Regions from separate parts of the Homo sapiens genome. Here region 2 is linked to region 1. Evidence: promoter capture Hi-C in 16 types of primary human blood cells and fetal thymus (Javierre and others, 2016). All regions are on one chromosome and are shown on one strand. The core of a region is centred on a gene start or on the middle of the fragment in contact, and the rest is flanking DNA. Distances in the headings are between cores, read along the strand shown.

Region 1 (2,590 bases), core at 53-2,552:
ACTGTTAGGTATATATCCAAGAGAAAGGAAATCAGTATATCAAAGAGATATCTGCACTCCCATGTTTATCGCAGCACTATTCACAATAGCCAAGATTTGGAAGCAACGTAAGTGTCCATCAACAGATAAATGGATAAGGAAAGTGTGGTACACATACACAATGGAGCACTATTCAGCCATAAAAAGAAGGAGAACCTTTCATTTGCTACAAGATGGATGGAATTGGGGATTATTATGTTAAGTAAAATAAACCAAACACAGGCAAACAAACAAATTGTTATGTTCTCACTTATTTGTGGGAGTTAAAAATTAAAACAATCCAACTCATGAAGATAGAGAGGATGATGGTTACCAAAGGCTGGGAAGGGTAGTGGGGAATGATTAATGGGTTCAAAAATACATGAGAGAGAATGAATAAGATCTAGTATTTTATAGCATAACAAGGTGAATACAGTCAATGATAATTTATCATTTTAAAATAACTAAAAGCATATAACTGGATTGTATATAACACAAATGATAAGTGCTTGAGGTGATGGATAGATACCCCACTTACCCTGATATGATTATTACGGATTGTATGCTCTACCTGTATCAAAATATTTCATGTACCCCACAAATATATACACCTACTATAGACACACAAGATTGAAAATTAAAAAAATTACTTTGGTAAATTTTATGTTCTATATTTTTACGATTAAAAATAAAAATAATATAACCTGAGAATGTCCCTAGCTCAGTGACAAGAACACAGTTGGTTGTCAAATGTCAATTTCCTTCTCACCACTCACTGGTGGGACACTCACCTTGGGGTCATGCGAAATAAATCACTCACCTGCAGGCGTTAAAAAATATTAGTCACATCAGTCACATGAAAATAATTAGCTTCTGGAAGTAAGCAGATGGTGGCACGCGAGGAAGAGCACCGGCCACTCTTCTCTGCATCAAAACTTCCTTAAAAGCATCTTCCAGACATGGACATAGCGTCTAGGTGTGGAGTGATGACCAGTGTCAAAGAAAGCAGCCCGGACTCCCCCGTCTTGTAGATATTTTACCAAATCAGATAATGAAGACATGGGAGGGAGCGCGCAACCAGGACCACGGGCTACTGAGTTTCCACTCCTTCCCAGTCTCAGAGAAGCCTCCTGGGCATGCAGAGCCTCTGAAGCCTCCCCCAGCTCAACTCTGACTTCTCTTCTCAGCCGCATTTCTCCACACACCCTTTCAAGGCTCTGCTCCTCCCACTGCTCCTCCCTCACTCCTCCCACGGCTCCTCCTCCTCCCTCCCCTTTCCTCTCAGACTTGCTTCTGAGCGGAAACTGAAAGTGAAATAGGGAGCTGGCTACCAGCGTTGAGTCCCCTGTAAAGGTGAGTGAACCCCACTAGATCAAGGGACCCCTGCCCTCCTAGGGGACCTCTCTCCCCTGCCCCAGGGTTGCAGAGCCCCTTCCAGTCTCCATCCTTGAGCCGGTCCCATTTGCCCCTTCTCCCACCAGGGATCCCTCAACCCAAGACCAGCTGCGCTTCCGGTGCTGGCCCCCTGCTTGGGAGGAGGCTGGGGTGTGGACCTGACTGCCGAGTTACCCAGAAGGGGAAGGGGCCCGGCTGCCCCCTACCTGGGAGGAGGCTGGGTTGTGGACGTGACTGTGGAGTTACCCAGAAGGGGAAGGGGCCCGGCTGCCCCCATGCTGGCACCTGACCTAGGATGACGGCTGGGTGTGGCTGGGATAGCCAGGACTACAGCCTAGCCAGGAGGGTAGGGAGCCCAGTGTCGGGGAGGTCTGCAATTCTGGAGACTCCCAGGTCCAAAAGTCCTCCAGAGGTGAGAGGGGCAGGCTGTTTAGGATGTTCAACCAGAAATGTATAGGCCTTCAGAATTATTCTTTGTCCTAGAATAAGTGTTGTCAGGAACTAAACTAAGTTTGGAGCAGCTGAGAAAAGAGCCCAGGGAGTGCTGGCCACGGTTCCTGTTACTCTGTGTGTATACATACATATACACCTACATACATATATGCAACTGACTTCCGCCGTTATAGGAGGGATTAATGAAGATATATTCAAAGCATGAAGTATCTCTGGCACATGGAAGGTACATGGTAAAAAGTAGCTATAATTTCTCAGCAACATGGAGGCCTGTTGGTACCCGACAGGAGATGGATGAGCACTGAGGGTTTAAGCAGGAATGGACATGATGAGAGTAGAACTGTCAACAGCTTTATGAGGTTCTTGCCAATTTTCATTCCCTCTTTTAGGGACTCAGTTTCTCCTTCTGTCTCACTGGATCAATGGACCAAACAATGGAGGAGTTCTTGTTATTCAGAACAGGAATAAACTTATTCAACAAACTGTTTGATCGGTGCAAAAGTAATTACTGTTTTTGACATTAATTGTTTTGCCATTAATTTTATGCCTTGTTTTGTTTTGTTTTGTTTTTGAGAGGGAGTCTCGCCGTGTCACCCAGGCTGGAGTGCAATGGCACAATCTTGGCTCACTGCAACCTCTGCCTCCCAGGTTCAAGCAATTCTCCTGCCTCAGCCTCCCAAGTAGCTGGGATTACAGGTGCCCACCACCACTCCCAGCTAATTTT
Region 2 (2,590 bases), core at 35-2,534, 150 kb before region 1:
TGTCCTATTTCCTCATAAAATATAAACAATAATACCTCATGTCAGGATATTTTCAAGAATTACATGAACAATGCTAAATATTAGCAGCTTGTCGTTATCACGGTTGGTTTACCTTCTTTGTAGCTCAAATATCCTTTAGTTGTAAGTTTTGTATTTTCCACCTTTTAGGACTTAGAGTTGTATACTTTCTTAGAATTCCTTTGGAACTACAAAAGTTGGAGAGCACAGTGCCTAATACTTCAAACTGCTTGTAAAGTTCCTAATGGGAAGCAGCCTACCATATTTAAACACCTTCTCCATGAGCTTATTTGAGAGAGAAGAAAATAGTAATCATCTAATCTTCATTTCTATCCTTGGTATTTGGAGAAGGCTCTCTCGGATCTGCTTGGTGCGAACAGCATAGACAATGGGATTGAGGATTGGAGGAATGAGGAGATAGAAGTTGGCCAGCAGAGTGTGGACTGGAGGAGGCACACACTGACCAAATCGGTGAATCAGGGAAGAAACAGCAATGGGAACATAAAAGATCAGGATGGCACAGAGGTGAGAAGCGCATGTCCCCAGGGTTTTAAGCCTAGCCTCAGGAGTGGCTAACCCCATCACGGCCCTGAAAATCATCACATAGGATGCAGCAATAGCCACTGAGTCCAGGATCAACACCAGAAAGCCGATGCTCAGCCCATAGACATTATTGACCCTGCTGTCGCCACATGTCAAGGCAACTACAGCCATGTGCTCACAGTAGGAGTGGGAGATAACATGGGTTTTATAAAGGGGCAGCCGCAGGCGGATCATCAGAGGCAGAGGTCCAATGTAGAGAACACCCCGGAGGAGAGAAACAAGCCCCAAACGACCCACCACTGTATAAGTGAGCACCATGCTATGACGTAGTGGGTTGCAGATGGCCACGTAGCGATCAAAAGCCATGGCAAGGAAGATGCCTGACTCAACAGTGGCAAAGCAGTGGATAAGGAACATTTGGCCCAAGCAGGCGTCCAGGCCAATGTCACAAGCACCGAACCAGAAGATTCCCAGAAGTTTGGGTATAGTGGAAGTAGACAGAACCAGGTCAATGGCAGCCAACATGCACAAGAAAAAGTACATGGGCTGGTGCAGGCTGCGTTCTATCTTTACCACAGCCAGGATGGTCACATTCCCCACCACAGCCACCAGGTACATGGAGCCAAAGGGGATGGAGAGCCAGACGTGTAGGGACTCCAGCCCTGGGATGCCAGTGAGCCAGAAGGAGCTGGGTACTGAGCAGACATTATGAAAAGTGAGCATGGCTATTTATATGTGAACCTTCTCACTTGTACCACTAAACGCAGCAGGATGTTTTTCCTGGAAATAAAAGACAATATTTTACTCTAAGTTCCTATAATAATAGGGTCACTGACTAGATGTTAGATAAGTCATCTTTAGAAGAAATTCTAGAACGTCAGTGTCACATTATACTAAAATGTTCGCAAAATCTTAGAAAGTACAAGCCAAAACACTCATTTGAATGAAATACATCTTTTTGCAGTATGACCTTCGAGGAGTGATATTCTTGCATCAGTGAATGAACTGACCTAAAGCAAATAACTATCTGGTCATTTACCACTGCAGGTAGGCTATGAGGTGGTGCTTGAGATCATGTTGGAAGGTTTTAGAGTGTACAGCTACTTGAAAGAAAAGGAGATGCACTGAAGTGTCAGAGGGTCAGAGACACCTGGGACTATCTAGGCTCTATGGTAAACCAAAGCTTAAGCCTGGGACCAGAATTGACTACTGGATGAGCTGAAATGTCTAATTTGCAGGCCAAAATCACAAGGCAGAGACTTGGGGTGGTAAAGATGACACCTTCCAGAGGGTATAGAAACAAAGTGATTTCTGAAAGATGAAAGCTGACCAAAGCTCAGTTTATGCGTATTTGATACCCAAAGGCAAAGCCTGGCAAGGGCCTCCTCCCTTCATGAAGACTGAATATGAAGAAAAGGCTCCAGAAACAGAGGGTTATCAGCAGGGAGGAAGAAGACATTCAGTGCAGAGTAGCATGAAGCCTAAGACAAATGTTTGGCCATGAAACACCCTTACTTGAAGTCCAGAGCAACTCACTAAAAAGATGTCAATTTAAAGCAAATACATGAAAACAATGTGTTGTCTGATTTTTTTTTTTTAAATCTTTGTCTAAAAGACTATACCAGAATGTGTTCCTTATATATCAGAGGAATACGAAAGGTGAGGAGCGTGTAAGAAGTTTAATGCAGTACATCTTAAGCCTAGTTAGGTTGATTACAGAATAGTCAGCAATCTGGGCTTAGGACTTTTCTAGATCTGTCTTCAGATCTTGGCAGTGAGAGCTTAGGTGAACTGCTTTATCCCATTAGTGAAATACAACTAACTACACTTTGCAACAAACTTAAAGCCATGGCCTAGAGAAGTTGTCATGACTAAATGAAAATGCAGGGCCTGACAGTAACACTAAGCATTAGTTCTTTATTCTGTTGAGACTAACATGCAAAGCCAAAAATGTTCAAACTTCAAAAGACTCTGGAATGTCTATCTCCAGGAAGCTGTGGTGCTTGGGAGGGTGACTGCTGTAAGTCTG

The links. The method cuts DNA at HindIII sites, captures the fragments that hold promoters and counts their contacts. A CHiCAGO score of 5 or more calls a contact.
Region 2: the fragment with the promoter of OR52M1 here is called in contact with the fragment with the promoter of TRIM21 in region 1 in 3 of 17 cell types (M2 macrophages, M0 macrophages and monocytes); the score reaches 8.8 in M2 macrophages.

The regions. Positions count from the first base shown.
Region 1 is chr11:4,392,414-4,395,003 of GRCh38, reverse strand. It overlaps TRIM21 (tripartite motif containing 21), which reads left to right and starts at 1,302. Exons shown (of 7, transcript NM_003141.4): 1 at 1,302-1,371. RefSeq lists enhancers at 1,122-1,181, 1,202-1,411. The HindIII fragment of the contact is 6,932 bases long and covers 1-2,590 here.
Region 2 is chr11:4,543,885-4,546,474 of GRCh38, reverse strand. OR52M1 (olfactory receptor family 52 subfamily M member 1) reads right to left here and starts at 1,284. Exons shown (of 1, transcript NM_001004137.1): 1 at 331-1,284. The coding sequence starts at 1,284. The coding sequence ends at 331. The HindIII fragment of the contact is 8,356 bases long and covers 1-1,746 here.